2 separate regions of the Homo sapiens genome follow, and region 2 is linked to region 1. Evidence: promoter capture Hi-C in human tissues and cell types (Jung and others, 2019). All regions are on one chromosome and are shown on one strand. Each heading gives the region's core, a stretch centred on a gene start or on the middle of the fragment in contact. The rest is flanking DNA. Distances are from core to core; before and after follow the strand shown.

Region 1 (5,844 bases), core at 2,209-4,708:
CTACTGTAAATAGAAATTTATAATCCCAGCTAACTCAGGAGGCTGAAGTGGGAGGACCGCTTGAGCCCAGGAGTTTGAGGCTGCAGTGAGCTACGATCGCACCACTGCACTACCTTGGGCAACAGAACTAGACCCTGAAAAGAAAGAAAGAAAGAAAGAGAGAGAGAGGGAGGGAGGGAGGGAGGGAGGGAGGGAGGGAGGGAGAGAGAAAGAGAGAGAAAGGAAAGAAAGAAAGAAAGAAAGAAAGAAAGAAAGAAAGAAAGAGAAAGGAAAGGAAAGGAAAGGAAGAAAGAAAGGGGAGGGGAGGGGAGGGAAGGGAAGAAGAAGAAAAAGAAAAGAAAAGAAAAGAAATTTAAACTGATGCTTTAAAAAATATTAATTAAAAAATAGTCCGGGAGGATGGCTTATGCCTGTAATCCCAGCACTTTGGGAGGCTGAGGCAGGCAGATTGCCTGAGGTCAGGAGTTCGAGATCAGTCTGGCTAACATGGTGAAACCCCCTCTCTACTAAAAATACAAAAAAATCGGCCAGGCATGGTGGCATGCGCCTGTAATCCTAGCTACTTGGGGGCTGAGGCAGGGAAATTGCTTGAACCTGGGAGGTCGAAGCTGCAGCGAGCTGAGATCGAGCCACTGCACTCTAGCCTGGCGACAGAGGGAGACTCTGTCTCCAAAAAAAAAAAAAAAAATTAGTAAACACATTACACGTTAACATAAATTTTTTTAACTTTTTATTTTTTTAGAAACAGTCTACCTACATTGCTCAGGCTAGACTAGAACTCTTGAACTCAAGGGATCCTCCCACTGGAGTAGCTGGAACTACAGGCTCACGCCACCGTGCTAGATAACGTATGAGTTTTTTTGTTGTTTTTGAGACAGGGTCTCCCTATGTCACCCAGGTTGGAGTGCAGTGGTGTAATCACAGCTCACTGCAACCTCTGCTCCCTGGGACTCAAGTCATCCTTCCACCTCAGTCTCCCGAGTAGCTGGGACTACAGGCACTTGCCACCAGAGTCGGGTAATTTTTATTTAATTAATTAATTAATTTATTTATTTATTTATTTTGAGACAGAGTCTCGCTTTGTCACCCAGGCTGGAGTGCAGTGGCACGATCTCGATCTCAGCTCACTGCAACCTCTGCCTCCCGGGTTCAAGTGATCCTCCTGCCTCAGCCTCCTGAGTAGCTGGGATTACAGGCGCCTGCCACCACGCCTGGCTAATTTTTTTTTTTTTTTGTATTTTTAGTAGAGATGAGGTTTCACCATGTTGGCCAGGCTGATCTTGAACTCCTGACCTCAACTGATCTGCCCCCCTTGGCCTCCCAAAGTGCTGGGATTACAGGCATAAGTCACTGCAACCAGACTTTTTTTTAAATAGAGACGGGGTTTTGCCATGCTGCCCAGGCTGGTCTCGAAATCTTGGGCTCAAGTGATCCTCCAGCCCTGGCCTCCCAAAGTGCTAGGATTACAAGCATGAGCCACTGTGGCCAGGAGTATTTATTTTTATTTTTTATTTTTCTGAGACAGAGTTTCGCTCTGTCGCCCAGTTTGGAGCATAGTGGTGTGATCTCAACTCACTGCAACCTCTGCCTCCCAGGCTCAAGGGATCTTCCCACCTCAGCCTCCCAAATACCTGGGACTACAGGCTCTCACCACCACGTCTGGCTAATTTTTTTATTTTACTTTTTTTTTTTTCTTTTTTTTTTTTGAGACGGAGTTTCGCTCTTGTTGCCCAAGCTGGAGTGCAGTGGCACGATCTTGGCTCACTGCAACCTCTGCCTCCCAGGCTCAAATGATTCTCGCGCCTCAGCCTCTTGAGTAGCTGGGATTACAGGCACATGCCACCATGTCTGGCTAATTTTTGTATTTTTAGTAGAGGCGTGGTTTCACCATGTTGGCCAGGCTGGTCTCGAACTCCTGAGCTCTAGAAATTTTCCCACCTCGGCCTCCCAAAGTGCTGGGATTACAGGCGTGAGCCACCCCGCCTGGCCTTAATTTTTTTTTTTTTACTATTTATTTATTTATTTATTGTATTATATTATTATTTTGAGATGGAGTCTTGCTCTGTCACCCAGCCTGCAGTGCAGTGGCGCGATTTCGGCTTGCTGCAACCTCCGCCTCCCGGGTTTAAGCAACTCTCTGCCTCAGCCTCCTGAGTAGCTGGGATTACAGGCATGCGCCACCATGCCCGGCTAATTTTTGTATTTTTAGTAGAGACGGGGTTTCACCACCTTGGCTAGGCTGGTCTTGAACTCCTGACCTCGTCCACCTCAGTCTCCCAAAGTGCTGGGATTACAGGCGTGAGCCACCGCGCCCGGCCAACTTTTAGATTTTTAATCAATACGTGCCACGTTGGGGTGCGCTTTATGGCTACAAGGGCATTAAGATTTCTTCCCTCAAGGAGCCAAGATCTGACGGTGGAAACCTACCTGCAACCACACGGTGAAAACTCAGGATGCTAAGAGCAATCCTGATGGGGCAAGCAGGGGACTGTGAGTTTGCAAGGGGGTCCTTAACTCCTGCGTGGGGGGCGGGGAGGGTGGATGGGGTTCTGGGTTCAGGAAACGTTCTCCCGGGAGTGGGAGGGGGTCTGATGGACAAGTGGATTTGGCCAGCCCAAATGGACAGGGGGCCTTGGGACAAGAGAACTCGTGGTGCTGGAATGCCAAGCGGGCTTCGCTCTACTGTGAAGTGGCGTTCATGTCACAAGGAGCCAGTGATGGATGTGGCTCGGGGAGGCGCGCCCTGGGGCTCCGGGGATCCAGCATTCCTCGACACGTCGGCCCCTCTCCGGGCGCCTCTGCAAGTCCGCCTGGTGGCCGGGTCTGCGCGGAGTGTCTGCGGGCCGGGGGGGGTCCCCGTTCTCTTCCTGGGATGAGCCCCAGCCCGGGGACCTCCTCGTGACCCCTCCATCCCTCTCCAAGGCCGGGGCCGCTACCCGGAGCAGCGAATCGTCCCGCGAGACCAGCGCCCCCGGCCCCCTCTCCCGGGGCGGCCTGGACCCCTCCCGGCGGCCGGGTGGTGGGAGGAGTCAGCGCCGGGCGGGGGAGGGGCGGCCGGGGCACGGGTGAGGGGCGCCGCGGGTCCGGCGGCTGGAGAGGGGGGCCCGGAGTGCAGGCCGCGGAGTCGGCGCTTGGGGGGGTACCCCGGGGCGCCCCCGGGCGGCGGAAAGCGGGCGCGCCCCTGGCCAGGCCGGGATTGGGGCGGGGCGCGCGGCCTCCCTGTGGGGAAGCGATCACCCGGCCTCGCAGCCGCCGCCGCCAAAGTTTCCCGGAGGAGCCGCGGGCCGCCCTTCCTCTCCGGCCCCGCGCTCTGCCGCCCCTCAGGCCCGCACCGCCCCGAGGCGCCCGGCCCGGCTCCATTGAGCGCAACTCGGATCCCAACTTGGGAGGCGCCGCGGGCCTGCGCACGCGCGCGCCCTCCCCGCTGCCGCCGCCGCCGCCGCCGCCGCCGCCGCCCACTCGGGAGCAGCTCCGGGCCGAGCCGGGCGCCCAGACCCCGGGCCCGCACACCCCGCGCCGCCGCCCGTGCCCGCGCCCGCGCCCGCCGCCCGCTGCCCGCTGCGCCCTCGCCCCAGCGCCCGCTGAGCGCGCCCGCCCGCGGCCCAGGCTGGGCCCGGCCGGCCCGGCCCTCGACAGCGGCAAGTTTGGGAGTTGCACGAGTTTGCGGGGCGGGGGACAGGCCAGGAGGGTGGCCATGGAGGAGGAGCGGGGGTCGGCGCTGGCGGCCGAGTCGGCGCTGGAGAAGAACGTGGCCGAGCTGACCGTCATGGACGTGTACGACATCGCGTCGCTTGTGGGCCACGAGTTCGAGCGGGTCATTGACCAGCACGGCTGCGAGGCCATCGCGCGCCTCATGCCCAAGGTCGTGCGCGTCCTGGAGATCCTGGAGGTGCTGGTCAGCCGCCACCACGTCGCGCCCGAGCTGGACGAGCTGCGCCTGGAGCTGGACCGCCTGCGCCTGGAGAGGATGGACCGCATCGAGAAGGAGCGCAAGCACCAGAAGGTGGGCGGCGGCCTCGGTCTGTCCGTCCGGGCAGTGGGACCGCGGGGACCCAAGGGCTCTTCCGCATTGGGCAGCTGTGGGTGCGCACGTGTGTGTGTTCAGGGACCGGACCAGAGGAGACCCGACGTGGGGAGGGAGGGAGGCCCTGGCCTTCTTTTGCCCGACCAGGGGTGGCTGGCAGATACCACCCGAGAGATTAAGAGCTGTTCTCTGGAGTTCCAATCCCACCTTTACCGTTTAATAGCTGTGTGACTTTAGGTAAGTTACTTAACCTCTCTGTGCTTTATTTCCTCACCTGTCAAATGGTAATCATAATAGGACCCACCTTAGAAGAATTAAATGGGACCATATAAGCTAAGTGCTTAGACATATTATTCTCTTCCAGACATGAAATAAGCCTCTTGGCCTCCCGAGTTACCAAGAAGATGTGACATCAGGCCCAGGACCCTTTCTTCATCCCCCCCCCCCCCAGTCTCCCCAGAGCAAAGGGAATGTGACCTCCAGCCACTGAGCTTCGTGACCCCTAGTCTTCGGGTTCATATTTGCAACTTTCTTCCCGGGACTCCCCTAGCTTATGAACCTGTGGTAGCCCGTGTTCTCTCCTCTGATTTTATCCTTAATCCTCACAGGACTCTATAGAGACTATCTTCATTTTACAGATAAAGAAACCGAGGGTCACAGTGGGAGGAGCAATTTGTCCCAAATTAGTGGTGAGAGAGTCCCAGCCCCCGTGTCTCCTCCCCACCCTGTTTGAATTGGGGGAAAGGGATGATTTGGGGTGGCTTTAAGGCTAAGCCTCTGCCCTGTGATCAGGAGTCTCTCTGAATCAGGGCCTCCCCACTGGGCCTGGAGTTCAGACGAGGTTTCTGGAGAAAAGGAAGTGAAAGACATGTGGTTTCCTGCCCTAACCTCAGCCAGGGATGCTCTTGGCAGCCCCTTCAGACTGAGAATGGGAGGAAACACCTTTCCTTGAGGGATCAGGGTGCCTGAGCAGTCTCCAGCTTGCTGTTCAGCCTCAGGAAATACAGATGGCCTCTCTGAACCTCAGGGGCAGGCCATCCCTTATTGTGTACTTTGATGGATCTCTGTGTTTTGGAGTAAAATAGCCAAAGCTGGGTCTGAACCCTTTACCTGAGGGCAGACCCACAGGTAGGTAACAGCACCATTGCCATGTTTGACTGTGCTCGTCCTCATGGGTCCCTATGCCCTAGGGGCAGGAAGGAAACTCAGGCTCCCAAGAGTTGAGCAGCATTTCCGAGGTCACTCTGGGAGCCTGAAAATGCTTTGACCTGTAATTAATTTCAAGACTCCTAGAAGCTAGGACTTTGGAGCTAGACAGCCTGGTTTCAAACCCTACCACTTGCAGGCTGTGTGATCTTGGGCAAATCACCCAGCATCTCTGTGCTTCAGTTTCCTCAGTTCTAAAATGGGATAGTAATAGTACCCCCATTAGAATGTGATGAGGTTTAAAGAGTTAATATAAATACATATAAAGTGTTCAGGACAGAGCCTGCCCATAGCAAGGGCTTTGCAAGTCTTAAAATTCTTTTTAGGCCTGGAGAGACATTCATTGAGGTGCTCACAGGCTCATATTAGGAAACCGTCCCCACCCCAAGCACCTCTACTCCTACCCTAGAGGCCTCCATCTCTCATAGAGGGTCAAGGAGGCAAGGGACCTTGGAAATTCTCTCGTGTGGCGCCTCTTATTAACAGGGACCAAGGGGCTTTGACCAGATCACACAGAAGTCCTGGCACCTATACTGTCCCCCAACTGGGGCTCTTTAGTTCTGTTGCGGGGGAGCTGGGAGAAATCCTTGGAAGCCATCGGAGGCCACCAGGTC
Region 2 (5,844 bases), core at 1,167-3,666, 1.0 Mb after region 1:
TAGTGTTTTGGGCCTCAGTATACTTAAAGAGTAATACTATTTTTCTTGGGTTGCAGGTTTTTTTGTATTTTTTCGAGACGGAGTTTTGCTCTTGTCGCCCAGGCTGGAGTGCGATGGCGCGATCTTGGCTCACTGCAACCTCCGCCTCCCGGGTTCAAGCGATTCTCCTGCCTCAGACTCCCGAGTAGCTGGGATTACAGGCGCCCACCACCACACCCGGCTAATTTTTTTATATTTTTGGTAGAGACGGGGTTTCACCACGTCGGCCAGGCTGGTCTCGAACTCCTGACCTCAGATGATCCACCCGCCTCGGCCTCCCAAAGTGCTGGGATTACAGGAGTGAGCCACCGCGCCCGGCCGGGTTCTAGTATTTTAAAAAGTGAATTTAAACATTTATTTATGCCGTGCCTTGTTCAATAAAAAGACAGTCCCCTAGAGAAGTGACCTAGTATTCAATCCAGTGCTTACCTCCTTCGCAGTGGAAAAAGATTTGTCTATGTTTCGAGCCGTTATTAGAGTTTGCAACAAAATGTAAATTATAAGAAACCAAAGTGGCTACCTCGTAGAGCCACTGCTGGAATAGAAGGCTGTTTTGCAGTTAACGTTTATGTGTACACATAGATTAGTACTAAATTAAAGCTTAGAAAATTTCAGAGCAATTTTAATACTCAGTTTTTGGTAGGTTTTTTTCCTGGATACCTGTATTATGCTACTATAAAATATCCTCAGGGAAATAAAAGTTTTCCATGGCCTCAATGACCACCTATCATTCCTATTTGTTTAGTGTTAAGATGGTTTTTGTTGTTGCTCTGTAGTATATTTTACAGATGAAAATGGTTGATGATGTAAGTTTAAGTTAGCCTATGTCACAGGGAGGTTTCTCTGTTGTCCAGCTTTGTGATGTTAAGCATGAAGTTAAAGTTAGATAAACCATTGCCTGAAAACTGCCTAGGCTAAGCACTAGATTTTCCATGAGAAGGTTGTTTTCGATTCTAGTCTTGTTCTCTGCAAAAGTAAATGGGATTTGCCACTAGTTAAGGAATTCTGTCTCTGGCAAAAGTGTCGTGCAACTGAGAGAAGTAATAGCGGTGCTTAAAATTTTCGAGATCACTTCTGTTTACCAAGTGTAAGCTGTACAAACACTCAGCAAGTAATAAATGAGTCTGAAATAGTCCTCAAGGATAACGATGAAAAAAAAAAGTGTCCAGAATTCATTGTGAAAAATCAGAATCATCCTTAATGATACAGCATTATTTATTAGTAGTAAACAGTAAAGATACGGAGATGCAGTATCATTTTAAGCAAGTCAGCTAATGTTGCTGGATCTCATCTGTGAAACGAGAAAGTTGAACTCTATTCTAAGGGGTGAAAACCTTTCAGCATAAAAATTTTATGGTTCCAGAAGTCACCCAGACTGGAGAAATAAGTACATATACAATATGCTGGCATGAGAGCCTCCCTGGTAGTTAATTTCTTACTGTTCTTTTTGTGCCATTGTTAGAGGAATAACACGTAATTTATGTCTTTCATCTCATAATTGAACTGCAAAACCTTTCTGTTTTTAATTTATCATTTTATTCCCTAAGTCTAGCATTGGTTTTGGCACATTTTTGACCCTTAGTAAATACTTGTTGAAGTAACTCGACCTCTCACAACTTCATTTATTAAAGTACAATACACCCATTTATTGTACTTGATACTTGTTTAAAATTTGTTAAAATACAATACCCCCATTTATTGTACTTGATATTTGGTATTCATTTTCTGGACTAACTTTCCTAAAGGAGGAAGTTCTCTAATGTGATTCCTCCTGCTGAAGACTATCGATTCCCTATTTATTCAATCCAGATTCCGTTTGATGTTATACGTGAAAAGTCCATAAACTGTTTCTGTAAAGGGCCAGACGGTAAATATTTTTGGCTTTGTGGGCCATGTGCAGTCTCTGTCACATTCTTTCCCAGGCTGGAGGGGCAGTGGCGCAATCTTAGCTCACTTCAACGTCTGCCTCATGGGTTCAAGCCATTCTCCTGTCTCAACCTCCTGAGTTGCTGGGATTACAGGCACGCCCCACCACTCTTGGCTAATTTTTGTGTTTTTAGTAGAAGCAGGGTTTTACCATGTTGGCTAGGCTGGTCTCAAACTCCTGACCTCAGGTTATCCGCCTGCCTCAACCTCCCAAAGTGCTAGGATTACAGGCATGAGCCACAACACTGGCGTTTTAAGTGCCTTTAGTTTTAACAGTTCAGTCTTTACAGTGCTATTTACTGAAGTTATTTATTAAATATGCCTAAAATAGTTTTAAAAAACGTAAAAAACCATTCCTAGCTCAAGGCCATACAGAAACAGAATGAGGACCATAGCTTGCCAACCCTTCCTAAGTAATCAATTCCCCAGGTGTATCAATTATTTTATTTTCATGTTATCTTCTCTGGTCAGATAGCCGAGCATTGTCTACCTTCTGCATTAGTTGAAACTTGTAAAATTTATATTGTAATAATTACTTATAAAATGCTTTAAAGCAGAAACAACTTAATGTTTTCATAGCCCAGAGCACATGTGAGGAGAGGCAGACCATATTTTGCAGCAGCACTGTGCCAAGGGGCTGTTTTCATTAAAGAGGGTTAATGACATTAAGATGAGGTTCTCACTTAGGTAAGTTAATTTTCTGTTTATTATTTTATAATATTCTTAGGGCATTGTTTTAAGATTTTATCGTCTTGAGTATCTTTAAGCTTTAACAACTCATTTTTGATGTTTGACATGTATGCTAATTTAAAAGTATTGGTAAAGTCAGCTAAATGCATTCACACATCTAAAAAGGACTATTTTCTCTGCTTGAATGCTTATTAGAACTACTTGGAGCCCTTATTCCTCCCCCACCCCACCCCATGTTTTAAAAGTTATACAAATCATCGTTAGAAAATTAAAGATACATCAGTCTAAATATGTAGGTCTTGCTTTAGTATCAGGTTCGTCATTTCAAGCCATTCAGCCTTATTAGTGTACAAAGCACATTTAGTTACTTGGAAAGCAGGCATTCTGATTTATTGATTGTGGGGGGCTATCTTCCCTCCCTTTGTCCCTCTTTTAAGAAATTGAAAACATTTAAAATGTAATTAAGAACTTTAATCATTTGTTTTTAAACTTTTAGGCTAGTGATACAGAGCGAGATGGACTAGCCCCAGAAAAGACATCACCAGATAGAGATAAGAAAAAAGAGCAGTCAGAAGTATCTGTTTCTCCTAGAGCTTCAAAACATCATTATTCAAGATCACGATCAAGGTCAAGAGAAAGAAAACGAAAGTCAGGTATGAATTCTTAAAGGTGGTTACAACTCTCAGCATTTGTATAAGATATGTAGACCTGTTGTATAAGAAGACACATACATTTAGTTTGTTGGCTGGGCATGGTGGCTCAAGCCTGTAATGCCAGCACTTTGGGAGGCCAAGGCAGGCAGATCACCTGAGCCAGGACCAAAAATACAAAAATTGACACACTCTCAGCCCAATGCAACCTCCATCTGCTGGGTTCAGGCAGTTCTTCTGCCTCAGCCTCCTGAGTAGCTGGGATTATAGGCGTGCGCCACCACGCCTAGCTTATTTTTGTATTTTTAGTAGAGACTGGGTTTCACCATGTTGGAACATATCAAATATAATTCAACCTGTTTATTTTCTTTAGTTTTTATTTTTCTTAATGGCTTACCTCTCTCTATTAAACCCCCTTATGAATTTGCTGTAGACTAGGAAACTAGATGGGCTGGTCAGAATATATGTAAAATACTGAAAGTCTATGACCGTTTAAAAGATGTATCTAGGCTGCTTTATGTCCTGGTTTGCTCAGATTGCTTGATTTGTTTCACATGTGTGTTGTATTAATGTAGAATAATCCCACCCGTGCCATGAAAAAATTAGTCATTGGAAGAAGACTAATGGGAGTCATTTTTCTCCAGCATTAAGAGTTTTTTAAGATGAAATGTTTCTCCAACTTTGTTTATGGTGATTATTTTTTTTGTGTATTCACAGATAATGAAGGAAGAAAACACAGGAGCCGGAGCAGAAGCAAAGAGGTAATTAACACTTTGTAGTGAATAGGTACTTTAAAATACTTATAAAGTGTCTGGTAGAAAGATTTGTATGAATATAAGACGTTGTCAAGGTAAGTACAAAACTTGAAATTTAAAAGGTTTATTGGGTTATAAAATAAGCATGATTTTGATTCATCATTTTTGAAGAAGATGTTTATGTGAAAAGTACCTTCAAAACTTTAATTTTATTATATTGTGAAAATATTCACAATAAAAATTTCATATGAAGAATATGATTGGTTTTTTTAGGCCTGTCACACAGAGCTTCCATTAATCTGAGGTCCCGAGTCTCCTGGTGCCTGACAGTTGCTCAGGATTTTTAAACAGCAATCATCTTTACATAGCAATACCCTAGATATCTGTGCGCTGCTTTTTCCTTATGAACGATAACAGGAGTTCTCTTTTCTTTTGCAAACTAGTTCAGTTTCCCTAATAGTAGTATTGAATTTTGAAATAAAGGTTTGAGTGAGGGACAGCTGAAAAGGTGGCGGTGACACCAAAACTTGAGGAAAAAGAAAGGCAGCAGCTGTATTGCAAAGGAGTTACTTGTTCACCCACCTGAGAAGACAAAGAATGAGCCAATAAGGAAGTGTAGAAGTAGTAGCCAGAAAGGGAGAAGAGTCTTGTGGGGGCTGGGTAAGGGACTCCTAAAACAAGAGTGGGCAGGGACTTCACCTCTTCCCGTAATGGAAGCTCTGTTAAATTTTTAATTTAGGAGAGTTTTTGTGAAAATGACTATTTTGTTTAGCTCACATGATAACATTTCTATAATAAATCATACTCAGCGTGCTTATGCGCGAAGAGACTGAACTGAAGACGCTGCAGACTCAGATAGCAAAATAATAAGCCTACTTCATGATAAGGTAACTATTAGTCATTCAAACTCCTATTTCCCTTAAATATATCTTAAATCAGTTAAGGGTTTTAATGTTTTTTTTAAATTAATAGTAATGTTATGTTTGAAAAACTGGTTTGAAATAAACTTTAAAACCTTTAGAAGTTTAACCACTTAAGACTTTTCCAGTCTGCCTCGTTATAGCAAAACCAAGGAAAATTTCTTTTCTAAGCTCCTATAGAGAACTGGCAATGAAACTAAAATTTAATTGTGTCTCCAGGTCTCTTATTTTTCTGCAAATAATAAATTATGTACTATGATCATTTTCAGATAAATCATCATGCATGTTCCAAAATGATTGGCCAAGTTTTATTTTTAAGAAACATTAATCGTGAGTGGAAAGAAACATGCTATGGCCTTTTGGGAGACAGTAGTGTCTTATTACAGTGGAAAAGTGGTAGCGTGGGCATCAGAAAAACATGGGGAAGGTTCAGCTCACCCATGTAGCTTTGTAACTTTAGATCTTAGTTATACATAAAATAAGGGGATTAAGTTAGAGGATCTTAGTTTCCTTCCAGAATTAAAATTTAGTGATTCAGAGATGTCTAGGATTTTAAACTTTCACTACAAGATGAATTTGACAGATCTTCCTGTAGGGAACTGTAGTATGTAGCACTTCTACTTTGGTATTTGGTAGGATGAGACTTGATCATGCAGTTAATTTGAGCTGAGTCTCTGAATGCACATGTGAAGGCCTTGGTCTTTTTAAAGTGTGGGGGCAGTATGTATTGTGTGATGGCATGTGGATTGTTATACCTAGTTTGGTTTCTTTAAAATTGAAACATACAGTTGCCATTTCTACCCTAGGTACATGAAGTGTAATACTCCTCTAAGCCTATTGGGATACTGCAAGATGAAAAGTGAT

The links. Contacts are between HindIII fragments. The study calls those that stand out against the background at their distance.
Region 2: a contact is called between a fragment that was not itself captured here and the fragment with the promoter of RILPL1 in region 1, in 1 of the 25 tissues and cell types used here (spleen).

The regions. Positions count from the first base shown.
Region 1 is chr12:123,531,333-123,537,176 of GRCh38, reverse strand. It overlaps RILPL1 (Rab interacting lysosomal protein like 1), which reads left to right and starts at 3,458. Exons shown (of 7, transcript NM_178314.5): 1 at 3,458-4,003. The coding sequence starts at 3,695. MIR3908 (microRNA 3908) reads right to left here and starts at 768; the gene lies at 643-768. RefSeq lists silencers at 2,530-2,715, 2,735-3,424 and an enhancer at 3,640-4,457. The HindIII fragment of the contact is 25,082 bases long and covers 1-5,844 here.
Region 2 is chr12:122,519,607-122,525,450 of GRCh38, reverse strand. RSRC2 (arginine and serine rich coiled-coil 2) reads left to right here. Exons shown (of 10, transcript NM_023012.6): 2 at 3,152-3,308; 3 at 4,023-4,066. Among named protein-coding and RNA genes, the nearest start is that of RSRC2, 4.4 kb to the left of the region's middle. The HindIII fragment of the contact is 5,664 bases long and covers 1-5,248 here.